6 separate regions of the Homo sapiens genome follow, and regions 2, 3, 4, 5 and 6 are each linked to region 1. The links are contacts of gene promoters, found by promoter capture Hi-C in blood cells and fetal thymus (Javierre and others, 2016). All regions are on one chromosome and are shown on one strand. Each heading gives the region's core, a stretch centred on a gene start or on the middle of the fragment in contact. The rest is flanking DNA. Distances are from core to core; before and after follow the strand shown. Region 1 holds the start of MLC1 (modulator of VRAC current 1). Region 2 has its middle 76 kb from the start of BRD1. Region 3 overlaps BRD1 (bromodomain containing 1). Region 4 overlaps BRD1 (bromodomain containing 1). Region 5 overlaps PPP6R2 (protein phosphatase 6 regulatory subunit 2). Region 6 overlaps BRD1 (bromodomain containing 1).

The links. Contacts are between HindIII fragments. The CHiCAGO score rates a contact against its expected background, and 5 or more counts as called.
Region 2: a fragment that was not itself captured here is called in contact with the fragment with the promoter of MLC1 in region 1 in 11 of 17 cell types (neutrophils, M0 macrophages, activated CD4 T cells and 8 more); the score reaches 9.1 in neutrophils.
Region 3: a contact is called between a fragment that was not itself captured here and the fragment with the promoter of MLC1 in region 1, in 4 of 17 cell types (total B cells, erythroblasts, activated CD4 T cells and 1 more). The highest score is 6.0, in total B cells.
Region 4: a contact is called between a fragment that was not itself captured here and the fragment with the promoter of MLC1 in region 1, in 4 of 17 cell types (erythroblasts, megakaryocytes, total B cells and 1 more). The highest score is 6.4, in erythroblasts.
Region 5: a fragment that was not itself captured here is called in contact with the fragment with the promoter of MLC1 in region 1 in 1 of 17 cell types (neutrophils); the score reaches 5.3 in neutrophils.
Region 6: a fragment that was not itself captured here is called in contact with the fragment with the promoter of MLC1 in region 1 in 4 of 17 cell types (erythroblasts, megakaryocytes, neutrophils and 1 more); the score reaches 12.0 in erythroblasts.

Annotation. Positions count from the first base shown.
Region 1 is chr22:50,083,584-50,088,220 of GRCh38, reverse strand. It overlaps MLC1 (modulator of VRAC current 1), which reads left to right and starts at 2,795. Exons shown (of 12, transcript NM_015166.4): 1 at 2,795-2,866; 2 at 3,260-3,495. The coding sequence starts at 3,319. RefSeq lists an enhancer at 2,523-3,147. The HindIII fragment of the contact is 3,674 bases long and covers 2,092-4,637 here.
Region 2 is chr22:49,749,606-49,754,242 of GRCh38, reverse strand. No RefSeq gene overlaps it. Among named protein-coding and RNA genes, the nearest start is that of BRD1, 76 kb to the left of the region's middle. The HindIII fragment of the contact is 4,339 bases long and covers 367-4,637 here.
Region 3 is chr22:49,773,058-49,777,694 of GRCh38, reverse strand. It overlaps BRD1 (bromodomain containing 1), which reads left to right. Exons shown (of 13, transcript NM_001304808.3): 9 at 1-17; 10 at 534-661; 11 at 1,536-1,645; 12 at 1,950-2,104; 13 at 3,279-4,412. The coding sequence ends at 3,462. Among named protein-coding and RNA genes, the nearest start is that of BRD1, 52 kb to the left of the region's middle. The HindIII fragment of the contact is 4,454 bases long and covers 536-4,637 here.
Region 4 is chr22:49,789,950-49,794,586 of GRCh38, reverse strand. It overlaps BRD1 (bromodomain containing 1), which reads left to right. Exons shown (of 13, transcript NM_001304808.3): 7 at 293-553. Among named protein-coding and RNA genes, the nearest start is that of BRD1, 36 kb to the left of the region's middle. The HindIII fragment of the contact is 1,166 bases long and covers 1,793-2,958 here.
Region 5 is chr22:50,356,919-50,361,555 of GRCh38, reverse strand. All of the region lies in intron 1 of PPP6R2 (protein phosphatase 6 regulatory subunit 2), which reads right to left. Among named protein-coding and RNA genes, the nearest start is that of PPP6R2, 16 kb to the right of the region's middle. RefSeq lists an enhancer at 53-102. The HindIII fragment of the contact is 1,222 bases long and covers 1,900-3,121 here.
Region 6 is chr22:49,808,490-49,813,126 of GRCh38, reverse strand. The region is part of intron 2 of BRD1 (bromodomain containing 1); the gene reads left to right. Among named protein-coding and RNA genes, the nearest start is that of BRD1, 17 kb to the left of the region's middle. The HindIII fragment of the contact is 4,355 bases long and covers 464-4,637 here.

The DNA.
Region 1 (4,637 bases), core at 1,546-4,045:
ATGGATGCAGAGTGTACTGATAGTTCTTGCTGTGGGAAGGGAGAGAGTGGCGCACTCCCTAGCATTTCAAATCCCCGCTAAGCCTGTGTCTTGGGCTGGGTGCTGGAACACATACAGGAGCCAGCAGGGTCCCAGGGACCTACTGGTTGGTGGGAGATTAGCTTGGAAACAAGAGCGAGCTGCATGAGGGCTGGTGGCTCATGGGCTCCCTGCCAGGGCAGCTCGCAGCGGGTGCTGTGCCTGCAGGGCTGCCCCTCAGCTCCCCAGCTCGGGCCACTCCCTGGGATTCTGGACTCAGTAGACCCGGCAGATGCCCACAGACATCTCGGCCTCATCATGTCCAGAATGGAACTCCAGATCCTCGCTCCACACCTGCTCCACCCTGGTCTTCTCATCTCTGTCCTCACTGCTCAGACAGAACTCAGCAACGTCGCCCTGACAGCAGATTGCGTCCGCTCTTCAAACCCTGTTCAGAGCCCAGTCCCTCCTCACCACTTGCCCACTGCCACCTCAATGCCAGGCAGCACCTGCTCCTCCCACCCCCCAGCCTGCTCTCCACCCAGTGAGTGACCGGATGCTGCTCTGCCCAGACCCCTCCAGCAGGTCTGTCTCAGAGTTGAAGCAGAGTCGTCTCCATACCCACAGGTGCTGGCACCTGGCTGTCCTACCTGTATCCCCCTTGCATGGTCCTCGCCTGCCTTCCCCAACCTGTGGCCTTTGCTTCAACTCTGCCAGCCTCCCCTCCCTGCCTCCTTCTCACTGAGGCCTGCCCTGGCCCCTGCAAACAGCAGCCCCTCATTTCTCTCCCCTGACTTCTTTTCCCTCATAGAGGAAATCATGTGTGTCACTGGATGCATTAGTCTGTTCTCACGCTGCTATAAGGACATACCCAAGACTGGGTAATTTTAGAGTCAAGTCCTTATAAAGGAAAGAGCTTTAATTGACTCACAGTTCCACAGGGCTGAGGAGGCCTCAGGAAACTTACAATCATGGTGGAAGGGGAAGCAAACATGTCCTTCTTCACAAGGTGGCAGGAAGGAGAAGTCTTGAGCAAAAGCGGGGAAAGCCCCTTATAAAAGACCATCAGATCTCATAAGACCTCACTCATTGTCAGGAGAACAGCAGCATGGGGGTAACCACCCCCATGATTCAATTACCTCCCACCGGGCCCCTTCCACGACATGTAGGAATTATGGGAATTACAATTCAAGATGAGATTTGAGTGGGGACACAGCCAAACCATATCACTGTATAACACACTAATTTGTTTATCCTGTGCACTCCTGTGCCCCCAATGAATGTAAACAGCCTATAGGAAGGACGTCACTTCTTTGTCCACCCCATAAATGTTTGTTGAATGTTGAATGATGATGGGACATCAGCAGGCAGAGGGATGAAGGGCATTTTAGGAGCAAGAATTTGTTGGAAGATTGTATGAAAGAACAGGGCCTGTTCTAGAAACTAGTGTTGCCAACAGAAACTTGGGAGCATTTCTCAAGTGATGACTTATGATCTGGGAAGCTGAGGGATTTGCTCTGCAACCTCTGGTTCAGGGCAGCTTGTTTGTATTTCTAAGTGGAGAGCAACTTTTGAAAGAAAAAAATGTTGAAATCCGATTAACATTTTTTTCCAAACAAAAAGAAACACAGGAGGATTCGATCCAGTTGGACCCACTCCCACTAATCCCGTTTATCGCTTTAAAAGATAGTGAAGTTTGGGAGGTTTCTCAATCCATTAAAATGAGTTCTTGACTTCACAGATTATAGTTTTTGAAAATTATTTCTCATCCTTGCTTGATTGAAATGAAGACAACAGAACATTGGCTGTGGTGGCTGGCACAAAATTAACTAACCCTAAAATACTAGTATAGCTTAAACTTTCGTTTATTGCTAAAAATTTATCACTGCTGTTTCCTGTGGGGGTGAGGTTGAGCAAAGTGTTTTGAGCTGCATTTATGCGTACTTGACACTTACGCATTTTGATCGAGGTGATTTAGTGGGCATTTTCACTGGGACAGGGATGCTTGTATGTGTAATCTTACTAAAAGCTAATAAAAACTTACTAAAAGCTAATAAAAGCTTACTAAAAGCTTCTTGCTTGATTGAAACGAAGACAACAGAACATCCCATGGTCTGGAACCTGATGACTTTGCTCAAGTTTTAATGTGGGTTCATGGTTTAAGGAGCTGGTTTTTCAGAAACTTTAGTTTGAGCCTTTTTACAATGTGCACAAAGAACCCGTTGCTGTAGTTGTCAGGGTGCCAGTGTCTCTGGGCGACACACATTACTGTGGTTTTTCTCTGCTTGGTGAGCAGAGATAAAGGGGGCAGCAGGACCGGGCCCACCAGCCATCCGGGCTGCCCACGCAAACCACAGGGCCGAATCCGGAGCCGCCCAAGGCCACACAGCTAAGCCGAGTGCGTGAATGCTTATGTGACCGTGTGAAGGAGGTTCCCACCGTGTGGCTGTGGGGGATGGAAAAAGGCTACTTGGAAAGATGTAGAAGACCTTCGAGTAAACAGTTACGTTTCAGAAACAGAGCCTGCTCAGAATGTGTACTTGGTGGGATTCTATTCTTAGGGACGCTTCTTTCTTCTGAGAGACCCGAGCTCTGTGGCGAGTGGCACAGGCAGGGCCCCTTCCTTTCCTAGTTGGGTTCTGACAGCTCCGAGGCAGTGGTTTACACAACCAACACGAAACATTTCTACGATCCACCCGATTCCTCCCCTCATTGATATTCAGGAAGCAGCTCTCCTTCCCCTGCCTTCAGCTCAAGTTTGCTGAGCTTTTGTTTCATTTGTGAATACTTCTTGCTGGAAGTCCCTCACCCAGAGACCAGTGCTCCCAACGGCAGAGCAGCGGGGGAGGTAAGTGCTCAGACATTAAGCCGTTGAGTAGAGGCATGTTTTGCAATCTCTCGTTTAGCTACCAATTGGAGCAGTTTAACGTGCTTGAGTCCCCGGCGTGATGTGTTCATGGACGAAGTTGCCGATGGATGTTGTCAGGTGTTGCACCTGGAGGGCCCAGATGGATCAATGAGGCATTTAAAGTGTAGAATCTCACCCTGAACCCAGACTATTCAGGTCCGTTTTTCTAGGAAAGTTATTTCTTTTTCACTTTTAGATTCAAGTGCTCATTTTCTTCTTCAAATTTAGAGCACTTCAGTATGAACAATATTTCTTTTGTTAAAAAATATTTCTTGGAAACAACTTATTGAAGTTTCCTCAGAGTGGCCAAAGCCGATGATAATTTTATTCCAGATAAAGAACTGGTGACACGTGGCTGTACATTCAGCACAGCTGTGGTGTCCCCAAGTGCCATGACCCAGGAGCCATTCAGAGAGGAGCTGGCCTATGACCGGATGCCCACGCTGGAGCGGGGCCGGCAAGACCCCGCCAGCTATGCCCCAGACGCGAAGCCGAGCGACCTGCAGCTGTCGAAGAGACTGCCCCCCTGCTTCAGCCACAAGACGTGGGTCTTCTCTGTGCTGATGGGGGTGAGTAGCTCCACACTAAGCCCTTGGAGGGCCACGAGCATCTGGTCCCTCTGGTGACGGACTGCAGCGCCCTGGAGCCCCAGGTGGGACAGAGAGAGCAACTCTCAGACTAACCCTGCTGCTGCAGAACTCTTGGATGCCGACGAGCTTGTTTTGCTTGTGTTTTCACAATTATTTTTATTAATTTATGGGTGTCTGTTGTGCCAGCCTTGAGCTGCTCCAGGTTGTGGCTTAGTCCCACCAGGGTAGGGACAGTCCCAGGGCCATGAATGGGCCCCAGGAGTCTCCATGACCCTCGGCTCTGGGGGCCCAGGGTCCTCTGAGGGGTCACCTGCAAAGGTGGGAGGAGGCGTCTCAGGCCTTCAGGTCGGCCCTCACAGAGAGAACCTCAGGGACCTCCTCCTCCTAGGGAGGGCCTCAGGGGCCGGCTGGGAGGGAGCTGGGGAACAAAGGAACAGGTCTGGGGTGGACGGGCAGCGCCAGATGTCCGAGGGATTTCCCTGGGGTCCTGGCCATTCCCTGCACAGTCGTGGGCACAGAGATGATTGGAGGAGCCACTTGGGCCTGAGTGTGTGCAGCTGCTCAGAGCCATGCTGCAGGACAGGCCTCTATGCAGGGACCCCCGGTTCCGTGTAGCTTGGGCTGAGAATGAGATCCAGGCTGTGATTTCTCCCCTCCCTGTGCCCTGGCCTCCGCCGGCAGCCCCTGCAGCACCCACAGTGGTCCTGCCCACCTCCCGTGGCCTGAGCATGCCCCACCAAGACAGGCGTCTGCCTCGGAGCTGGGGACAGAGGCGGCTCCCGGGTGGTGGTGGCCATCTCCGGGCTCTGCCCTCCTCCACCTGGTGCCCTGGACTTGGTCGCAGCCCCTCCCCCGCCCAGGCCAGATCCCCTCTGCCCCAGACCTCGCTTCCTCTGCCAGGACCCTGGGTCCCAGTGACCTTTGATACTGACTCCCCTCAGACTCACCCCGGGGGTGCTGTGCGTGAGAGAGAGCCCCCTCCCCACCGCACCCCTGCAGTGCTGTGCGTGAGAGAGAGCACCCTCCCTGCCTCCTGCTAGGGTCTTCCCTGCTCAGGAGCCCCTGGGCCTGGAGCCCCTGCCTGGAGGGATCTTCTTCCAGATCTGGAAATTAGGTTCTGC
Region 2 (4,637 bases), core at 1,287-3,786, 330 kb after region 1:
ACTGGAGGGCAGAGTGGAGGAGATTCAGGTGTCCAGGCACCTGCTGCCAGGTGGGAAGTGTGATGAGGCCTCTCCCCACACTCCCTGCTTTGTGGAGGAGGCTGAGCGCAGCGGCCCTGGCCCGAGAGAGCCCTTGGGGTGCACGTGCCCCAGCAGGTGCGTCTGTGCAGGAGGCTGAGCGCAGCGGCCCTGGCCCGAGAGAGCCCTTGGAGTGCACGTGCCCCAGCAGGTGGGAGGCCAGCCCCACCCTGGATCACACCTGCCGTCCCTGGCGGTTCTGAGAAATTGCACTGTGAATGATGAGGTTCAGCTGGACTTTCTCCTGATAGATTCCTGCAAGTTAATTGAAAATAAAATGCACAAGCTTTTCTTTTAATGAGAAAAGGCAGATGTAGCTGGAACTAATCAGTGGGGGGCTGGGGCAAACTCAGAGACTGTGGAAGGAAAATAGAAGTTTGAAGGCATTTGAAAAACACGGCAATTCTCCCCAAACAGTGCCACGGTGATGCATTAATATCCTGAGTTCCGAGTTGTTGCTCCCGAGGCGATGACGACCCGTTACCCGGCACAATTCCCAGTTCCACTGTCGTTATCTCTTAATTAAATCACATTACTGTGGGTTTGCTGTCACAGTTTTACTGATGGTCCCTAGGAAGCTGCTTGGAGAGCCAGGAGCTGCAGCGTTCGGGGGCTGGCCTGGGCCTGAGGTCCACGAACCACGGCCCCTGGGCCCCTTCCAGCTCTGCTCCCCACCCGCACCCATCACTCTGCTCTTGGGGTGGTCCTGGCCCTGGCTACATCCCTCCTTCCTTCCCATGGACGTTCTTAGAAATGGGCTTGGCTGGCCGGGCGCGGTGGCTCACACCTGTCATCCCAGCACTTTGGGAGGCTGAGGCAGGTGGATCACTTGAGGCCAGGAGTTCGAGATTAGCCTGGCCGACATGGTGAAAACCCACCTCTACTAAAGATACAAAAATTAGCTGGGTGTGCTGACGCATGTCTGTAATCCCAGCTACTGGGAGGCTAAGGTACGAGAATCGCTTGAACCAGGGAGATGGAGGTTGCAGTGAGCTGAGATTACGCCACTGTTCTCCAGCCTGGGCCTGGGCGGCAGAGCAAGACTCTGTCTCAAAAAAAAAAAAAAAAAAAAAGAGGAAAGGGCCTGGCCACAGTTCGGCAGCAGCTCTCGATGCTGAGGGTGTCAGTGGCTGGTCCTCAGGCGTCTGGCCGTGACCTTCAGCCGCGTTATTCTCTGCACTCAGCCGAAAGACCCCCCCCGAGGTCTCGTGATTAGAACTCCCTGAGCCCTGGAGACCTGCTGTGGGAACCCGTTGTGTTAGCGTCTGTCCTTGTGTAACAAGGTCACCACAAATCTTGCAGCTCAAAACGACACACATCTGTCATCTCAGTCTCTGTGGCCAGCGGTCTGGCGCCACTTCGTGGGGTCCTCTGCTGGGCCCACAGGCTGCCATCAGGTGGCGGCTGGGCTGGAGGCTGAGCTGGGGCAGAGTTCACCTCCACGCTCACTCAGGGTGCTGGCAACCATCCGTCCTTCCAACTGTAGGACTGACGGCTTCATTTTCTCACTGGCTTTTGTCCAGAGGCTGCACTCTGGTGCTAGAGGCCACCGAAGGTCCCAGGTACGTGGTGTTGCCCAGCACGGCTGCTGTGTTCCCGCAGCAAAGGAGACAGCGGCTCCAGCAAGGCAGGGTCACAATCGTGCGTGGTGTGGTCGTGCACACACACTTAGCCACGGACACTCTATCGCTTTGATCCTATGATGTGGCTTAGGAGCAAGAAACAGGTCCCGGCAACACCCAAGGGGAGGGGACCAGGAAGGGGCACAAACCCCCGAGCTGGGAGCGCCGACAGGTGAGGGGCACAGGCTCCAAGTGCATGCTGGGGATAAGAAAGGCCGAGGTACCCACGCTGGGTTTGCAGAACAAGCCCGAACCCCACCCCCTCCTCTGTCCAGTCTGAACCACACCCCTCCTCTGTCCAGGCTGAACCCCACCCCCTCCTCTGTCCAGCCTAAACCACACCCCTCCTCTGTCTAGCCTGAACCCCACCCCTCCTCTTTCCAACCCTGCCCCCTGTGAAGTTTCCTCAGCTTTTGCTTTTGTTATCGTGGGCATCCAGGCCCTTTCTGTTCAGTGTCCTCCTTCCCACACCCACTCCCCCTCTGTCTTCCTCAACATCCATCCCTTTGTCATTGAGAATCCAGACAGCGGCTGTTTCTAACCTCTTTCCAGGGTCAGAGTAGCCCTGGTGTGTGCCTGGCTGGGCTCCAGGCCTGCGCCTCCCGGGTTCTGGGGGGGCTCTGGGATGTGGTCCTGCCAGCGGCCTCTGACAGGGGACGTGGGGCACCATGTGCAACCCCTCTCCTCCCTGGAGCAGCTTTTCTGGCCCAGAGGCTGGGAAACATCTTCCCCTCAGGGTTTGGTCTTCATTCTTCTTGTTCCCGCTGAGAAACCACAGCCAGGTGGGCGCTGGAGGGAGCTGAGGGGCACCTGCCTTCCCGTCTCCTCTGCTCCTCCCAGGGTCACCTGCCCACTCGGCCGCAGGCTTGGCCTGGGCCTGGAGTGCACGGGCCATGTGTGGCCTGGGACTGGCACGCACGGGCCATGTGTGGCCTGAGACACGGTGTGATCACTTTCTGTATGATTTACTTCTGGAGCCCTGATCCTTGACTGATGATCAATGTGAGGTCCTTGCAAGTAAATTCTACCTGTCAGGCTAGATGCCAAAACATGTAGCATTCACAGAAAAGAAAAGTCTGGGCCGGGCACGGTGGCTCACACCTGTGATCCCAGAGCTTTGGGAGGCCGAGGTGGGCGGATCACAAGGTCAGGAGATTGATACCATCCTGGCTAACACAGTGAAACCCCGTCTCTACTGAAAATACAAAAACAAAATTAGCCGGGCCTGGTGGTGGTCGCCTGTAGTCCCAGCTACTTGGGAGGCTGAGGCAGGAGAATGGCGTGAACCCGGGAGGCAGAGCTTGCAGTGAGCCGAGATTGCACCACTGCGAGATCGCACTCCAGCCTGGGCGACAGAGCGAGATTCCATCTCAAACAAAAACAAAAACAAAAAAAGTCAGAAGTGACCCTGCTCCGCCTCCTCCAGATCTGCATTTAGTGTGTGGACCTTCATCTGAGTCTCTGAGGAGGTGGTGAAATGTGGCTTCTCTTCGAGGTCACACCTGCCTGGGGGTCCCGTGTGGGGTCTGCAGGGTACCCAGGAGGCAGGGAGGGTCGCGGGGGAGGGGACTGGGGTGTTTCTTCGCAGCCCGGGGCGCGGCGGCTCATGAGACCTCCGCGGGGAGGCAGGAGACAGCGTGGCCTTTCCCGGGGCTGGTGGGGCTGGTGGGGAGGAAGCTGGAGCCCAGGGCGGGGGTCCGGGGGATGGCGGGGTGGGGTCGAGGACCCTCAGGTGCAGCGGGCGCCTCTGTGAGGGGCCGGAGGGGGCCACTTCTTCCCTGGACCCCGAGGCCCCGCAGGGCAGGACATGGCTGGGAATCTCCCAGGGCAGTGAATGAGGGGCTCCTGCAGGGTGGGCCCATCTGCCTCATGGGGGGCCTGAGACAGGGGTGGGACCTGCCCTGCCCTCAGGGCCTGGCCTCCCCTCCCCTCCCCTTCCTTCCCTCATTCATTCATTCGTTCATTCATTCATTCACCCCTCTTGGGTCCTCCTGGCCGCACTGGGCCTGGCATGGGGGGGGTCCCTGCCGGGCTCTCCTGGTTGCCGCCCACCGTTCCCCCAGGACCCCGTAGCCCTCGCGGACCAAACCACACCTGCGCAGGGAATCGGCTCTGTCCCCTGCCCCATACTGGTGCTGCCCCCACGATCCCAACGGGAGTCCCCAGAAGGCCGCCATGGGGTGGGGACGTTGAACCCCATGGGAGGGCACAGGGCCCAGTGGTCCCTGGCTGGATGTCCCAGCAGAGGGGTCAGGGGTGAAACAGGGACTGCGGTGGGACCCCCGGGGAGTAGCCATCAGGGCTGGGACACCTGGGGCAGTGCATGGGGGCCCTGGCTGAGGACGGGGGCCTTGGGGTGAGCCTGGGGCTGGGGGTCGGGGCCTGCTCTGGAGGGGAAGGCTCGGGCAGAGCTGCTCAGAGACATTCCATGTGATGCCGTGGAGCCCCGGGATGGCCATGTGGGGGGCTGCGGACCCCTGCCCTGCCTGTCCTGCCTGGAGCCCTGTGGGTGGGGTAGGGGTGAAGGGCACCTGTGCTCCCCACGGAGTGGGCGCTGCCTCCTGCCCTGCAGGCCCTGCCGGACACTCTGGAGAGGCTCAGAGTGCAGACCCCGGTTGGCCAGAGGGGAGCAGGGCGAGGTCTTCCCCACAAGGCTTGGTCGCTGTGACTGGTGGGATGGAGGCTGCAGCCGCAGGGACTTTAGGCTGCTGCAGCCTTGGCTCAGAAACTGGCCCTTCTCAGGACAATTGGAGGGTGCCCCCACTTGCCTGCTGTCGCTGGTTGACTCATTCCAGAGCACTGCTCACATTTCTGCCAGGCTCTTCCCCACCGGGAGCTCCTGGAGGCTGACCCCTGCCTCCCCCGGGGGCTGCTTCTGTCCTAGGCCCCCTACTTTCCCCTGGCACTGAAGCCTTTCTTCCCTGTATGATTGTCTTG
Region 3 (4,637 bases), core at 1,513-4,012, 310 kb after region 1:
CCGCTCTGCGACTCGAGGTGGGCACCGCGGCCCTGCGCTTCCCACCACGCAGCTCCCAGCACCGCCCGCCCCGCCTGGCTGTCCTGGAAGCCGGGACATTCCAGCTCCCATCTTAGTGTTCTCTGAAAAATTCTGGCCTGGGATTCATGTGTGCTCTGCCCTTGTGGACAGTTTCCCATGCTGCATATTAATCTGCTTTATAGAATTCAAGCAGAAGTAGGAAAAACACTGCGTGAAATAGGAACACAATTTTAGAATCTGCAATGAAGTTTTACACTTGATCTTTACCTCCCAGAATCTGGCAATGAGCACAGCCCTGCCTGTCTGCCCTGTGAAGGCCACTTTGGCCTCCTGAGTCCCCCCTGCCACAGGTTCACTCCCTCCAGACCTGCGCACCCACAGGCCCGTCTGGCCGCGGGGGTGTCAGGCAGGATGCGTGGCCAGCTTGGTGGCGGACAGCTCACGGGACGAAGCCCGAGTGAGGCTGAAGGCAGGGGCGGGGCGCCTGACTCCCTCTGCTCTTCCTCCCGAAGCTTTAATGCGCCCAAATGTGGGCGGGGCAAACCGGCTCTTGTGCGACGGCACACGCTGGAGGACCGCAGTGAGCTGATCTCCTGCATCGAGAATGGGAACTACGCCAAGGCGGCCAGGATCGCAGCCGGTGAGTCGCCCGGACCTGCCTCCATGGCTCTCCACACCTCCTGGTTAGCGTCTTAGGGCTCGACTGCTGGGGACTGGACTCCGGCTCAGGGAGCATGGTGCCCTGTGTGGAGCCCCACCCTGGCCAACCTCCCGGGGAAGGGTTCATCACACACCGAGGGGCTCTGGGCTGTGGCCCTGCCGGGGTGCCTGCGGAGGTGGCGCCTCCTCCATCCTGCCTTCGTTTCCCTGTGGAACGTCCAGCTCTGTGTGGCTGCTGGTTGCCAGGCACTGTCAAGGCTGTCTGGGGTTGTTTAGGTTCAGTGGTCATTTGCAGCTGCACAGGGGACTGACTGCAGGGTGGGTGCCCTCAACTTCAGGCCCCTGGGGGAGGGGGAGGCCCCAGGGTTTGGGGTCGCACAGCCCTCACTGTGGAAGGCAGCCATGCTGTGAGGGGGCATCAGGACGGAGATCCCCCAGGTGGGAGGGACAGCAGGGAGCTGGTCTGGCGGAGGGGGAGCCAGGACTTTGGTTTCCCATTTGGGGTGTCAGTTGTGTAAATGAGGCAGGAGCATGCTGGGAGCCCCGTCCTTGCGGCAAGGAGGGCTCAGAAGGGACTGTGCTGGGCACCTGGAGTTGGAGCCTTGTAGCCTGGAGGGCAGGAGCTTCCCTGGGTCCGTGGGAGGCTGGTGGCCCCAGGTGGGCTGCAGGGACAGTGGGGATGCAAGGGCCTGGACCCCACAGGGGAGGCAGTGGTGCTGCCGGGGTGGCTGAGAAAGGCCTGGGAGCTGGGCTGTGCTCGGGGGACCCACCCTGTTGCTGCACCTTTTGTGGGGGGGCGGGGCGTGCCCCGTGTCCTGCTGACGCCTGTGTCCTGCTGACGCCCCTCTCCGCAGAAGTCGGCCAGAGCAGCATGTGGATCTCCACTGATGCCGCCGCCTCGGTGCTGGAGCCTCTGAAGGTGGTGTGGGCCAAGTGCAGCGGCTACCCCTCCTACCCGGCACTGGTGAGTACGGCTCTCGTGGCGCCTGCGGGTCCAGAGGAGGCTCACACAGCTGCGGGGCGGGGGTGGTCCGAGGAGGCTCACGGCGGTGGTCCAAGGAGGTTCCACAGCTGGCGGGGGGGCGGGGTTGGTCAGAGGAGGTTCACACAGCTGGAAGGGGCAGGGGTGGTTCGGCGAGGGGGGCGTGGGGGTGGTCTGAGGAGGCTCACACAGCTGGGGTGGGGAGGCGGGGGGGGGTGCCAGTGACAGGTGGGGTTGTTTATGGGTGTGAGCCTCACAATGACCTCAGCGGGTCCTTCTCGTGCAGATCATCGACCCCAAGATGCCCCGTGTGCCTGGCCACCACAACGGCGTCACCATCCCGGCCCCACCCCTGGACGTGCTGAAGATTGGGGAGCACATGCAGACCAAGTCTGATGAGAAGCTGTTCCTCGTTCTCTTTTTTGATAATAAGAGAAGTTGGTGAGTTGAGAGGCCTTAGACTCCGGGGACCGGCTGGGGTGGTTGGGGGCCGTGGGCTCGGTGACCTGAGTGTCCCTGTGGTGAGCAGCGTCTTTGTCTGCTGGGCCCTGGCACAGCTAAAGTCGGAGGTGAGTGCTCCGCTGTTTGCCTGGTGGAGAAGGGCACTGCCCAGCCCCCTCGCCGGGACTGTGGGACGGGCACTGAGCACCGGGTCTGTCTCTGCCCGATGGCTTCCTCTCCCTCTCGCCTGAGCCCCATTGGTCTGGACTGTCTCTTCCCTACTCCTTACCCATGTGTCCGCTCCAGTGTTGGGGGTCCCTCTGCTGTGCTCCCGGACCCCTGTACTGCAGGACATGGCCCCTGCCCGGGCCTGGCCTCTGGCCCTGTTCTTAGAGCCTTCTGTCCCAGCATCATCCAGCTCTGCTCAGACATCCACCCCATCACAGGAGGCTCCCCCTGTGCCCTGAGCTGCTTTTCCCCAGAGCGTCTGGGACCCTCATGTGCCAGGGTTTAGACCCCAAGATCCCTCTGTGCAGGACACGCTGGCAGCACATGCCTCTGGGAGGAGCTGTGGCCCCGGCTGTGCCCTGCGCACGTGGCCCGGGCAGGTGCTTCCTGGTTCCCCGTGGAGCTGGCTGCACTTGGGACCTGGCGCAGGGGCTCGGGGCCACCTGCCTATGGTGTGCCTGGAGCAGGACTGGCAGCACAGGCATCCCTACCGTCTTTCTCTTCCTTGCCTCGACCTCTGCCTCTTTGGCCACGTGGCCACTGCTTCTTGTCAGGCCTTGAGCGAGGCCCACACCTTGTCCATCCGAGGGCCCCTTTGATGGGGTCTCCCCAACCACCGGCCTCTGCTCCAGGGCCCACCCTGACTCTGGGCTTGGTGTGTGCATGTCTTGTCACTAAGCAGGCACTGGGAAACGTTTTGGAGGTGGAGGAGGAGGTGATGGTTTTTATGCCTTACTTAGCTCCCCGTATCCCCAAGTCGGGGAGGGGAAGGGAGGGGTGCACTCCTGGCCTCGGGCCTGTCCCTGCACGGGGCCCAGCTGTCTTGGTGGTGCTGAGCAGGGCCCCTTTCTATCGGAGGGCAGTGAATTTGTTAGATGATTACATGGAGCCTGCTGAAATACCATGTGCAAGCAATGATTTTCCGCTTGTTTTTCCTTTTAAAAAGGCAGTGGCTTCCTAAGTCCAAAATGGTTCCCCTTGGTATTGACGAAACTATAGACAAGTTAAAGATGATGGAAGGGAGGAATTCCAGCATCCGGAAGGCCGTGCGGATCGCTTTTGACCGCGCCATGAACCACCTGAGCCGCGTCCACGGGGAGCCGACCAGCGACCTCAGTGACATTGACTGACGGCCCGGCCGCCAGCGCGGGTCTTGTCCATAGTGTTGATAAGCTGTACATGTTTGTATATTGTTCAAAACTTAACTTATTCTGATTTTTAGTTATAGCTCTTTAATTCTTTTTCCCCGGGGAGGGGGGAGGTTTTATTTCCAAGTTTTCTAGGAACCCATCTCCGTCTGGGCGCTGTGAGTGGGGTGGGCACGTCCGGGCAGCCCAGTGCGTCTGTCGCACGTCCCCAGGCCGTGCTGCTGGCGTCACTTTCTTTGATATGTAGCTTTTTCTTAAAGACTTTTGAATGTTTAATAATTTTGTAAATCATGCTCTTTACACAGAGTACCACTTATTTAATAAGACGGGATGTAAATTTACAATGACAAATGTGTATTTTAAGAAAGAAAATGACATTATTTTGAATGGTACTTTGTGGAAAGAGGGGAGAATAAAGTTATGCTGTGTACATCACTTGCAGATCACCAAAAACACTCCGCTGCCCGTGACCGCCGGTGGGTGTGTCCCCGCTCCCGTCGTCCCGCCCACCTCAAACCCCGCAGGTGTGCCTCCCAGCGGATTATTTATTGTAGAAAGTGTATTCATTTGCTTTATAATGAAAAATACATTTGCAAAGGTATATTGATATGCATTTTTATACAGGCACATAAAAATTCAACTTGGCTTGGGAGCAGAATGCATTGCATTGTATAAATGACTCTGGCCTGTGTGTACTTTGATTTTATAACTTGTAATCTTTTGTTTACAATGAGGGGCTTTCTGTAACTTGTTTTAATTTAGAACACTTTGGTAGCAATAGAAACTTTGGATACATTTTTGTATGGTACCTGTGATGTATATAGAATTAGTACTTTATTTTTATTTTTAAGAGGTAAAGCATTATGTTGGGGAAAGTAGGGTGGGTTTCCAAATTTGCATTTTTTATATTAAAAATAAAGTCAAGATTTGGACGGTGTGGCCATTTTATTCCTACAGCCCTAGACGGCTAGGTGAGCCCCAAGGACGGGTGGGGTGCTGGCTGCAGGGGGCGGGGACACGCCTTTATCTTGAAAACTGTCATGGGATGGCATTATTTGTTATTTCACCTGATCATATTTTTATTTTAAAACTTCAGTTACATAAAAGTTTTAAATGCTTTTTTTAAGCCTACACCGTTTGTAACATCTCCATAGAAA
Region 4 (4,637 bases), core at 1,126-3,625, 290 kb after region 1:
GGTCCTGGTCCAGGAGAGGTTGCGATCTTACCTGGACGCTGCCCCTTCTGTGCTGACAGTGTCATGGGAGTAGAAATTCTCCATCAGGAGCATCCCAGTGTGTTCCTGTAGCAGCAGCTACTCGTGGGTTCAGAGTGCAGGGGAGGGGCCTCTGGTGAGCAGGGCCTGGGCCTCGTTGCTAACAGCCACTCTCAGGGCCTTGGCCGAAGGTGATTTGAAAGACGGGACCGGTGATGTGTTCCCAGAAGGTGCGTGGGACCTGATGACTGACAGCATGTGTCCTTTGGTTCAGTGGACAGGTTGCTGGACCCCGCCAACAGAGCCCACCTGGGCCTGGAGGAGCAGCTGAGAGAGCTGCTGGACATGCTCGACCTCACCTGCGCTATGAAGTCCAGCGGCTCCCGGAGCAAGCGGGCAAAGCTGCTCAAAAAGGAAATTGCCCTTCTCCGAAACAAGCTGAGCCAGCAGCACAGCCAGCCCCTGCCCACGGGGCCAGGCTTGGAAGGCTTCGAAGAGGACGGAGCTGCGCTGGGGCCGGAGGCGGGCGAGGAAGGTAAGCCACGGTGAGGGCTGCCCCGCTTTCTTGCCGTCACGGCTCAGGCTCAGGCACAGGCACAGGCACAGACCCAGACACGGGCAGCAGCGTTGGTGTGCACGGAGGCTCAGGTTAGCGCCAGTTCCGTAAAATTCACAAATCCCGGAACACTTGATTTTCCCACTGGGCTGTTGTTTCCTTTTAAGGAGACGTTATCATTTGTGCTGTCTGTGTTTTCTCACATAATCAGTTGATAAAATTTAAGGCACAGAATAAAATTTTTCTCTTTAACTTGGGCCTGAGAAACTATTTGAAAAGAATGGTTTAGATCTTACACTGTGTTGAAGAGTAAAGGTAGCCTGAATGATGAGAGTGAGAAATGTTTTTGTTGCATTTTGTAAATTGGCGGGGAGCCATTTAATTGTGCGCTAGGCCATCAAATGCAGCATTTTGAAAGGGCTGTTTTAGATTATTGGCACTTAAACACTCCTCCCTGATGTTGTGAAGGGAGGGACGGTACCTGCAGAGGCCTTGTCTGCCCCGAGGGTCCCCGGCCAGCTCCTCTGCAGAGTTGGTAGGTAGCAGCCGTGATCGTTGCCAAAGAATGTCTGGGGAAAGGTCCAGGCAGCAAAGATGTTTTTATGACTAAGAAATAAATGTAGGAGAAGAAATCCGCCTATCTAGAAGGAGAACTAGCAAAACCCAGGGCAAATGCAGGCTTGGCATGGTGAGGAGGGAGTTTACGAGCGATGGTCTGTGTACATCTAGGTTGGCAGGGTGAGGAAGTAGAGCTGGTGTGTCCCATATTTGGTGAAAGAGGAATTTTAAAACTAAATCGGATTTGGAGACGTTGATAGAAAGTCATTGCCACTGTGTTTTGCCGTGTGTCTCTGCAGTTGACCTTGACACGCTCCGGTTACACGAAGCAGACAGTAGGGTCAGACCCTCTTGCCACAACATTGGCAGCTGGTTCTCAGCCTTCTTGCCCTTCCCCTGCACATCCAAGTCAGAACAGCAGACAGTTGAAATAAGACACAGAATTGTTGTACAATTTTCTTTTAAAACAAAGACGTTCATCTCTTATGGACGTCTGTGCTCGGAGTGACGCAGTGTCTTCATGATGCCACACAGGTCAGCGGGTCCCCATGGTCTCAGGGCCCTTTTCATCCCCTGAACTTCTTGTGGCTCCTGTCTGCAGAGCTTCGCCCCTTTTATCCTGTTTTACATTTGGGCAACTTGAATGAGAGCCATTAAGCTTTTCTTTCTCTTAGAAACTTACTCCTGTGCACACAGCTGAGAATTTCTTATGCATCCTTTTGCTCATTTTGTGCCTGTTTGTTGTTCTGTTCTGGGATTCTTCTGTTTAGTTCACCATAGTATAGTACCCAGACTCTAGAATGTCTCTTTTGGGGCTGGCGTCAATTACGTTAGGTCCATAGAATAAAGGCTTTTCTATTTCAAGGTGAGCGCTTGGTTTTCTCTTCTCCCAAAGGCTGTTATTGTTGGCACGTGATCCCTCCTCTGCTTTGGGGGCCTCGTGTTTTTTCTGAGGAACGTTTGCCTACAGGACCCTCTGGCAGCCATACCTGTCCGGGCCCTGGGCCGCCCCATTGTGCCCAGGAGTCCAGGCTGGTGCCTGGTCCCGCAGCCTTTGCTTCCGTGCAGCCCACCGAGGCATCCTCTGGCTGTGTGGGCCTCCCTCTAGGTGGACTGCCCTTCTGTCCTTGTCTTCTGTGCCCTGAGGACTGAGCTGTGAGGAGGTTGCCAGCAGGTCCACTCACCATTCTCAAAATAGCTTCCAGCGCTTCTCTTCGCACACAGTTGTACCATTTTCACTGTAGAGCAGTAAGTTACCTTTTTAGCTTTTTTTTTTTATCAGTGGCTTCCTCCATTGCCATTGGGTCACAGGGCTGAGGACCCCGCACGGTTATTGGGTCACAGGACTGAGGACCTCGCATGGTTGAGGACCTCGCATGGTTGGAGCTGCTTGGCCCTCCGCTGTGGTGAGCGTGGCTCCTCATAACACCCAACGCTTAGCAGGAGCCTTTGGAGACCATTTTTGTTGCTTTGTAGCTCTGGAATCATTTTATTTTTATTTTTTTTCTGGGGCCATTGTAAGGAAAACACAATGTGACTGAGACACAGGTGGCCTCGAATCACCTGTTACACCCAATGTTCACAATGACTCAATTGATGAAAAGGGCGTTTCCTGTGAGCTGATGGGAAGGTGGGTGGAGAAGCAAGTGGCCTGAAAGTCCACTCCGAGGTGAGGCGGGTGGGGTCCTGCCCCTCAGAGAAGTTGGGGGTCTCTGGAGAGGTGGGGCGGGCGGGGTCCTGCCCCTCAGAGAAGATGGGGGTCTGTGGAGAGGCGAGTGCCAGACTGGAATGGGGAAGTCATTAGGGAAGACAGCCACAAGCAAGCTTGTTGGTTGGTATAGAAATGTGACTTACGATACTTATAATAGGATGAAAACCAAGAATCAGACATTTAAAAACCCAGCATGAACGTTCTCATCAGTAAAGCCTCTCCATCATTTTTCTTAAATATAACCACAATATTTTCACACCTGAAAAGAGTAATTCCTCAATGGCAAATACACAGTCTCACTTAAACTGTAATTTAACAGTCTGTGTGTTGTGTTTATATTTTGCTTCCACTTGAAGCAGCTTGAACAAGGCTGTAGCCGTTGAGTGCCAGGCCCCTGAGACTTTAGTGTCTGAAGGAAGGAGATGCCTCCTGGGCTGCACTGTTGGCCCCGGTCTGCCCCTTGTACAGGCCCTCCCGCAGGCTCTGCCGTAGCCGCGACTCAGTCTGCCGAGTGCAGAGGTTCGGGCTGTTGCTGTGAGCTGGCCCTGCCAGGGCTGACTTCCCCGGGGCTGCGTGTCAGCTGGGTGGGGGCCACGCCACAGCTGGGATTCCAGCCTGTCTGATGAGCCTGTGGGACGGATCTGCAGCTGGCAGAGGGCTTGTCTCCACCCTGTGCTGAGGTTGGTGTCTGCTGACATGGTGAGGCAGGTCAGTGCAGTCAGGAGGAGCAGGGTCCGCACCGTGAGCTGGTGAAAGGGGCTTGCATTTCGAGTCCTTGGGATTTCCAGTCACAGTGATGCCCTTGCCAGAGGCTCCGGGGCGTCCCCTTTAGTCCAGGGCAGCTGTGGTCCCTTGAAGTGCACGTGTGGAAGTCCCCCTGCCGTGCACGGGCGCTGAGCACGTGGAGAACTGTGGCCCTCAGGAAAGGAAGGATGCATGTTCCTCGGGGTAGAAGGTGCGGAGTACGCAGCTTTGTCCCTTCAGGATTGCAGAGGACGGAGGCTTGAGGCAGGGTTGTTGGAGGGACAGTGTGGTTGCTGCTCGTGAGCTGAAATGTCTGCCTGTGTTACGCTGTGATTTTCCAAAGCGTCTTGTGGCTTCGATACAGAAACCTTTGATTGACATAGCAGGTGGCCAGGTGGGCAAAATATTGCGGAATTGTTCTTGCAGACTTAACTAGGTTTTAGTTTCTTAGAGTAGCTGGTTTGGATTAGATAACCATTTTGCCATTTGGAATATGTGACAAGTTCCAGGGACTGGAATTCTAGGATCCTGACTGATACATTGACGGGGTCTGAGAGGCTTATGCCCGAGTTGTATCGAGCATGTTCTGAGCTTTTCCCATGTGCAGTTCAGTGACAGCCTGAGATGGCCCAGAGTCAGTGAGCTTTGAGAGGAGTCTTCCTTCTTGTATGTCAACTTCCAGTCACATTTCCACTCGAGGGACGGGTTGGGCTTGCCTGTTGTGTCGTGGAGCCTGGAGGCTCAGGTCCTGTTTTTTTCTGATTTTATGGATGAGGAACTGAGGCACTGAACGGTCCGGGGGCCTCTGTGGTCCCGGCTGGGGGAGGGGCCTGTGTGGTCCCGGCTGGGCAGGTGGCTGAGCACCCAGACGACAGCGACCTCTGTTCCTGACCACGGCCTCCTTTGTGCCTCTGGTCAGTGCTGCAGGAACGCATCCTTTAGCCTGCGTGCTGGCGGCTGGAGCCCGGCCTGCATGTGGAGCTGCCGCAGAGAGGCCAGGGGCGTGTGGGGTGCATGCATGGCTGAGACAGGGCCACAGGGGCCCGCTTT
Region 5 (4,637 bases), core at 1,261-3,760, 270 kb before region 1:
CTGGGGCAGTGAACAAAGCTCAAGTCCAAACAAGACGCACAGAAGAAGTAAGAGCCAACAAACTGCCTTTAGGGTTCCAGCAGCCACAGGAGAGTGGCAGTAGCTGGCTTCATCCGTACACTCAAAGCTCAAAGCCTAATGCAGCAGGTAGTTTCCTACCAACCCCCAGTTCACAAGTAAAAAGCAGAGGTCTCAGTAATTACATGACTAGCGCAACGTCATGGGCTAGTAAGTATCCGTTCTAGAACTTGAACCCAGGTTTGGCTGAGAGCAAAGCCCATGTTCTCAGTCTCCATATGATAACCAGATTCTGACTGAGTCAATGAAGAAAAAAAGGAGTTATCAAAGGAAATCCAAAAGGAATGACCAAGATTGAGGGTGATGACAGGAAGGCACTACCCAGGACCGAACTAGTCCAGGAAGGGCATCACAGCAAAGAGCTGAGAAAGGGTCAGAGCAGAGTTCCACAGGCTTAGAGATGGTGGGATCATGAGGAGAGAGAAGTCAAGTCTTCAAAGTGGAGCAGTCAACAGGATGATGAGTGACAGTCAAATTCTTGAAGAGCTCCTAAAGGTCTGACTGTCCACAGTAGCCCAGAGAGAGGACACTGGGCATCAGTCAGTTCATTCAGCAACAAATGTAGCTAATAATGGGACAAACCTAGTCATGCCCCAAGGAACCTGACGTCTAGCAGAGAAAACAGATACTGACAGACTCTACACAGTGCCAAACCTGAGAGAGACTGGTGTGAGCAGCAACAGTGGGCAGAAGCACAGGTCAGCTCCCTGGCTCACACCCAATAGGTGTCCTATCTGTGAGCTCTGACAGTGTAGCTAACTGCCAGCTTCTCTGTGGCTCCTCGGTAAACAGGGATAAAAATACAGATCTCCTGGGCCAGGAATGGTGCCTCACACCTATAATCCCCATGCTTTGGGAGGTCCAGGCAGGAGGATTGCTTGAAGCCAGGAGTTCAAGACCAGCCTGAGCAACACAGAGAGACCCCATCTCTAAAAACCTTTTTTTAAATTAGCCAGGTGTGGTGGCATGTACTTGCAGTCCTAGCAACTCAGGAAACTGAGGCAGGAGGGTCTCTTATGCCTGAGAGTTCAAGACTGCAGTGAGTCATGATCATGTGTTCATACCACTTGCACTTCCAAGTGGGCAGCAGAGGAGACCCTGTCTCTCTTAAAAAAAAAAAAAAAAAAGGCTGAGCATGGTGGCTCACGCCTATAATCCCAGCACTTTGGGAGGCCAAGGCAGGCAGATCATGAGGTCAAGAGATCAAGACCATCCTGGCCAACACGGTGAAGCCCCATCTCTACTAAAAATACAAAAATCAGCCAGGCGTGGTGGCACGCACCTGTAGTCCCAGCTACTTGGGAGGCTGAGGCAGGAGAATCGCTTGAACCCAGGAGATGGAGGTTGCAGTGAGCCGACATTGTGCCATTGCATTCCAGCCTCCATGACAGAGCAAGAGTCCATCTCAAAAAAAAAAAAAAGTGCTGAAAGGGAAAAAAAAAGCTGTTAACCTAGAATTCTGTATCAAGCAAAAATATCCTTTGAAAACAAAAATATAAATAAAGACATTTTAAGACAAACAAAAGCTGAGGGAATTTGTCCTTATCATACCCACATTACAAGAAATCCTGAAGGAAAATAATCCCGGATAGAAATCTGATCTGTAAAAGAAATGAAGAATTTCCCAACTCATTCTATGGGTCCCAGTATTACCTTGATACCAAAACCAAAGACATCAAAAGAAAAGAAAGTCACACACAAATATTTCTTAAGAAGGTAGATGTAAAAAGCCTCAACAAAACACTACCAAACCAAATCCAACCACATATAAAAAGGATTCTACACCATACCACAGGGGATTTAATCCCAAGAATGCAAGCTTGCTTTAACACCCGAAAATCAATTAATTTAACATATCACATGTGGATAAAGGACAAAACACAAGTGATCATCTCAACATACACAGAAAAAGCATCTGACAAAATATAAACCTTTTTCATCATAAAAAAAAACACTCCACAGGCCGGGCATGGTGGCTCATGCCTGTAATCCCAGCACTTTGGGAGGCCGAGGCGGGCAGATCACAAGGTCAGGAGATCGAGACCATCCTGGCTAACACGGCAAACCCCATCTCTACTAAAAATACAAAAAATTAGCCGGGTGCGGTGGTGGGCGCCTGTAGTCCCAGCTGCTCGGGAGGCTGAGGCAGGAGAATGGCATGAAGCCGGGAGGCAGAGCTTGCAGTGAGCGGAGATCACGCCACTGCACTCCAGCCTGGGCGACAGAGCAAGACTCAGTTTCAAAAAAAAAAAAAAAAAAAGACCAGCCTGGCCAACAGGATGAAACCGTGTCTCTACTAACAATACAAACATTAGCTGGGCGTGGTGGCTGGTGCCCATAATCCCAGCTACTCGGGAGGCTGAGGCAGGAAAATCACTCAAACCCAGGAGGTGGAGGTTGCAGTGAGTGGAGATCGCGCCACTGAACTCCAGCCTGGCAATAGGGTGAGACTCCGTCTCAAAAAAAGAGTTGGGGGGGGGGGGGGGGCGGTTCTTTTACACTACTTGGTTTCAGGATATACCATTAAGTTACAATAATCAAGACATCGCGGTGTTAACACAGGATAGAAAATAAACCAATGGAACAGAAAAAACAGAAATAAGCCTGCAGACATGTTTAATTAATTTATAACAAAGGTTCCAATGGAATTGAATGGAGAAGAGAGTCCTTTCAACAAATGATGGCAGAATAATTGCATATCCATATGGAGAAAAATGCATCCTGACCCCACCTCACATCACACACAAAAATTAAAGCAAGATGGATCATACAGAAAAGAGATCAGCAGTTGCTTAGAGAAGGAGGGAAAGGATAGAGTGGAAGGAAAGAATCCCAATGGCGCATGAGGAAATTCTGGGGACAATGAATATGTTTACTATCCTGACTATAGTGACAATTTCACAAATGTATACATATGTCAAAACTTATCAAATTTTATACTTTAAGCATGTATAGTTTATCATATTAATTTTATCTCAATAAAGCTGTTAAAAAGAAAAAGATGGATGACAGACCTAAATACAAAAGCTACCACTGTAAAGCTTCTACAAAAAACACAGGGCAGCATCTACACAACCTGGTGCAGGCAAAATTTTCTTAAGACACAAAATAATCATAACAGAAAAAATTGGTAAATTTTTACTATATCCAAATTAAAATGTTCTGTTCATCAAAAGATACCATTAACAAATAAGAAACAACAAAACAAAATAAACAAACAGGAGCTGGGTACACTGGTTCACACCTGTAATCTGAGCGACTCAGGAGGCTAAAGGTGGAGGATCACTTGAGGTCAGGAGTTAAAGAACACCCTGGGCTACGCAGAGAGACCCCCATCTCTACCAAGAATTTTTTTTTTTTTAAATTATCCAGGTGTGGTGGCTTGTGCCTATGGTCCTAGCTACTTGGGAGGCTGAGGTGGGAGGATTGCTTCCGAAGGTCAAAGCCGCAGTGAGCCACGATCACGCCACTGCACTCCAGCCTAGGCAACAAAGCGAGACCGTGTCTCAAGAAATTAAAATTTAAAAAATTTAAAAAATTAGCCAGGGGCCAGGTGCCAGGTGCGGTGGCTCACACCTGTAATCCCGGCACTTTGGAAGGCCAAGGAGGACGAATCACGAGGTCAGGAGTTAAAGACCACCCTGGCCAACATAGTGAAACCCTGTCTCTACTAAAAATACAAAAAAATTAGCTGGGCTTGGAGGCAGGTGTCTGTAACCCCAGCTACTCGGGAGGCCGAGGCAGGAGAATCACTTGAACCCAGGAGGTGGAGGTTGCAGTGGAGATCATGCCACTGCACTCCAACCTGGGTGACAGTGCAAGACTCCATCTCAAAAAAAGAAAAAAAAAAATTAGCCAGGGAGGCTGAGGTGGGAAGACTGCTTGATCCTAGGAGTTTGAAGCTGCAGTGAGCTATGATCACATTTACTGTACTCCAGCCTGGGTGACAGAGTGAGACCTCATCAAAAAAGAAAGAGAGAGAGAGAGACAGGGAGGAAAAGGGGAAAGGAAGGAAGGGAGGTAGGGAAAGAGAGAGAAAAAAGAAAAAGAAAAGAAAAGAAAGAAGAGGGATGGAGAGAGGGAGGGAAAGAGATGAAAGAGAAAGAGAAAATAAGCAACTAGTATAACAAAAAAAATTCACCCCCTTCCTCTTCCTCCCCTCACTATGTATGTATATGCATATACGCATGCACACACCACAAAGGACTTGTAACCAGAATTTATTTTTGTAAACTCCTAAAAGTGAATAAAAGAACAATCCAATAAACAGTGGGTAAAAGCATGAATAGATATTAATATTTCACAAAAAAATACACGAATGGCCCGTAAGGCACCTGAAAAGTTGCTCACCATCATAATTCATCAGACAAACTCAAATTAAAACCACAGTAAGATACCACTACCGCCTGAATGGCTAAAAGTAAAAAGGCTAAGTGCTGTCATAGGCAAGGAGAAAGGAATTCTCACCCATTACTAGTAGGAGTGTAAAATGTTTCCAGTTTGGAAAACTGGAAGTTTTGTTTTTGCTTTTTTGTTTTTTTTTTGAGACAGAGTCTCCC
Region 6 (4,637 bases), core at 1,392-3,891, 270 kb after region 1:
GAGCCATGGTGCCCGGCCACCTCGAGGAGTCTTGAGCCCTCCTGGAATTGCTGTTTGGTGTGAGGTTGGGTCAGGCCTGGTGAGTCATCTGGGTTGTGAGCCAGCCTGCTTGGCCTCCTGGTCTCAGGCCAGCTGTGACCTGGACCTTGGGCCACCCAGCAGCTTTGTGCTGAGCCTCAGTCTGCGGTTGGGAGGGCACCCCTTGTCTCCAGAATGGTCCTGGCGTGTGAGGTCCTTGGTGCGTCCGTGTACAGTGGGCGGCACCTTGTCTCCAGAACGGTCCTGGCGTGTGAGGTCCTTGGTGCGTCTGTGTACATGGGCGGCACCTTGTCTCCAGAATGGTCCTGGCGTGTGAGGTCCTTGGTTCGTCTGTGTACAGTGGGCAGTAGCTTTAAAGTTCCTGCTTCACCTTGTCAGACTTCTGGTTAGAGTCCTCCCGACATTAGTGTTCCTTTAGGAAGCTTGGACTCTTTACACCGTTAATTACACTGTTAATTTCACTTAAACATGGAGGTGGCCCAGTTTGCTGCCCATGTAAGACTACTTTTACTTTTTTGAGACAAGGTCTTGCTCTGTCGCCCAGGCTGGAGTTCAGTGGCATGATCTCAGTTCACTGCAGCCTCCACCTCCAGAGTTCAAGTGAGTCTCATGCCTCAGCCTCCTGAGTAGCTGGGATTATAGGCATGTGCCACGACTCCTGGCTCTCTCTAGGACTTCTTTAATGTCATAATAGAAGCTGATGGTTTTCTCCATAAAAGTCTATTAGATTTATTTCTAGGCACTTGTTAATATAGTACTTCTTAAAATTAGCATTTTTGTTTTTAGCTATGTGTTGTAGATGGATACAACATGTTGTAAGATTCTTTTGGATCGTCTTTGTGGACAGTATCTGTGAAGAATGACTCCTGCCTCAGTCTCCCACTTGAACCCAGGAGGTGGAGCTTGCAGTGAGCCGAGATCGCGCCATTGCACTCCAGCCTGGGTGACAGAGCAAGACTGTCTCAAAAAAAAAAAAAAAAAAAGGAGCAGACTGTGCTCCTTGCCATAGGATTTTATCCATGTTCTTTTATTTCTGCCTCTCAAATACTGTTTAATCTTAACGTATTTTTAAATTTTGTGTGATTTTTCTGTTTTTGAGAGGAATTTTTGATATGTTAATACTATAGATCTTAGTATATTTTAAAAACTGATGATGTTTGATACATGCCAAATCATGTGTGGACCATAAATGTAAATAGCAATGCCCACAAACCCACCCATAGCCTAGGAATTGGGAGACTCAGCACCGCCGGCTGAATTCGCCTGTGCGGTGTGTCCCATTCCATCCCTGTTCTGCCGCCCGTGGGGGAATTTTGTCAGCTTCACTGAGACACTTAGTACCCTCCCCTTACCTGTGGTTTTGCTTTCCATGGTGTCAGTTGCCCATGGTCAGCCATAGTCTGAAAGTATTAAATGGGAAATTCCAGCAGTAAGCAGTTCATAAGTTTTCAGTTGTGCACCATTCTGAGCAGCGTGATCACAGTCTCCCTGTCGTGTCCTGCCTGCCGGGAGCGTGAATCTAACCTTTGTCCAGTGCACCCACGCCGTGCAGCTGCCTGCACCTTAACCCGCTTAGTAGCAGGTACCAACATCCAGGCTGGCGCTCGGTCCTGTTCCAAGTTTCAGGCAGCCGCTGGAGGTCTTGGAACCATCCCCCTTGGTTAAGGGGGGACTCTTGTCATTCACACACCATGAAATTTACCCATGTGAAGTGTACAGTTGAGTGGATTTTAGTTCACAGAGTTGTGCATTTATCACCACCACCAATTTTAGAAATTTTTATCACCTCCAAAGGAAACCCTGTGCCTCTTAGCCATTACCCCAACTTCCCACCTTCTCATCCTCCCCCAGCCCTGGCAGCCACCCATCTGCATCCTGTCTCCGTGTATTTGCCTGTTGTGGGCATTTCATAGAAATGTGTTTTTTTGTTCTTTTATGAAATGTGTTTTTTTTGTTCTTTCACTGAGCATGTTTCCAAGGTCCATCCATCGTGCCCCCTGGGTCGGTGTGCCATTCCTTTTCACGGCTGCGTAATGTTCATTGTATGGATAGGCCACGTTTAAAAAAATCTGTTCATCTTTTGATGGATGTTTGTTTTTTTCCTACTTTGGAGCTATTATGAACAATGCTGCTCTGAACATTTGTGTAACAGTTTTTAGGTAGTGTGTTTTTATTTCTCTTGGGTATATTCTAGGAGTGGAGTTGCTGGGTCATGTGGTAATGCTGTTTAGTATTTTGAGGAAGTGCCAGATTGTTTTCCAAGGCAGCTGTACCCCTGTATATTCTCAGGCGCTGTCCTTTTGATGATACCCATTCCATGGTGCAGGGGCAGCGATCGCTCGGGGGTTTTGCTTTGCAGTTCCACAGTGGCTGAAGATGTTGCCTGGCCATTTGCATATTTTCTTTGGAGAAATGTCTGTTCAGATCTTTGCCATGTTTTCATTGGTTAGCTGACTTCTTACTGTTGTCATAAGAGTTCTCTGTTCTGGGTACTAGACTCCCTATTAGATACATGACTTGCAAATACTTTCTCTTCATTCTGTGGGTCATCTTATTGTTTTATTCAGTGTTCTTTGAAGCACAAACATTTACAAGTTGGATGGAGTCCAGTTTATCTGCTTTCTCTTCGGTTGCTTGTGCTTTTGGTGTCACATGTAAGAAGCCTTTGCCTAACCAAGGGTCTTTTAATAGGAGTTTTATTTATTTTTATATGTGCACATATATATATATTTTAAGAGCTGGGGTCTCACTGTGTTGCCCAGGCTGTTCTGAAACTCCTGGGCTCAAGCAATTTTCTCGCCTTGGCATCCCAAAGTGCTGGGATTACAAGTGTGAGTCACCGCGTCTGGCCACTGTTTTCCTATATATGATAATTTCTACCTTTACCTGATAGCAGTCTAGAAGCATGTGGGGCTTGCTTGCTTGCTCGCTCGCTTTCTTTCTTTCTCTTTCTTTCTTTTTTAACCAAATTAATTTTTTAAACTCTTGATATCCATTGCTTGTGCTGTGGGCAAAGGACGTGACCTGCATGGTACGCATTCATTCTTTGATGCTTGTTGAGACTTTATGGCCCAATAGGTTATACATTTTTTATAAATAGTCCATCTGTGCTTGTGAATATGTGTGTTCTTTCTTTCTTTGATGCAATATTCTCTATGAGCTTGTTGGGTCAAATGTATAAGTCATGCTTACATTTTTAATATCCTTAATTTATTTTTGCGTGAATTGGTTTCATTAGGCTTGTAGGTTTAACAGTTCTCATTGTAGCTCCTGGAGGTTTTGCATTTGATATTTTCAAGATGTCCCGTTAGGCAGTGTGTACGCATTTGGAATTTGGTCACTTCCTTCGATCATGGTCCAGTAGCCCTCATAGCCCTCTTCACTCCAGTCATGGTGTTTCTCTGGCCTCAGTTCAGCTGATCGGTCAGCAGTACCCACTTTCTGCTCCTTAATGTACACCTGAACATTTTCCTTATGTCCAGCTTCAGCCTTGCTGTGGTATTTTAAAACTGGAATTACATATATATATATATATATATTTTTTTTGGAGACGAAGTCTCATTCCGTCACCCAGGCTGGAGTGCAGTGGCGCGATCTCGGCTCACTACAACCTCCGCCTCCCGTGTTCAAGCGATTCTCCTGCCTCAAGCCTTCCAAGTAGCTGGGATTACAGGCACCTGTCACCACGCCTGGCTAATTTTTGTATTTTTAGTAGAGACGAGGTTTCACCATCTTGGCTAGGCTGGTCTTGAACTCCTGACCTCATGATCCACCTGCTTCGGCCTCCCAAAGTGCTGGGATTACAGGCGTGAGCCACTGCACCTGGCCTAAAACTGGAATTTTAAATTTTTAACCAGATTGACAACCTCTTCATTAGCAACTTTAGACTGTTGACTTATGTTGGATTACTGATCTATTTTGGATTTGTTTCCATGATCCTTTTTTTCCCTTTTTCTTTATTTTTCCTCTGAGACTGAGTCTTGCTATGTTGCCCAGGCTGGAGTGCAGTGGTGTGATCTCGGCTCACTGTAATGTCTTCCTCCCGGGTTCAAGCAGTTCTCCTGCCTCAGTCTCCTGAATAGCTAGGATTACGGGCGTGTGCCATCATGCCTGGCTAATTTTTTTGTATTTTTAGTAGAGATGGGGTTTCACCATGTTGGCCAGGCTGGTCTTGAACTCCTGACCTCATGATCTGCCTGCCTCGGCTTCCAAAAGTGCTGGGATTACAGGCGGAAGCCACTGCGCCCGGCTCACTTTTTCTTCTGATGTATTGACTCAGATGGTTTTGCTGTTTTGGAGTCGGGGGCATTTTTCCTCCTCTACTCATTTGGAAGGTGCACATTCCATTTAACTCTCTGTATTCAAGTTTTTTCAGTATTTTACTGTGGTCACGTACACATAACATAAAATGTACCATCTTAATCATTGTAAGTGTATAGCTCAGGGGCATGAAGCACTTTGATATTGCTGTTGCTGTGCAGCCATCACCACCATCTATCTTCAGAGCCTTTTTGTCTTCCCAGTCTGAAACTCTGTCCCAGTTAAACAGGAACTCCCCATTCCTCCCTCCCTGGCTGCGGGCGTTCACCGTTCTACTC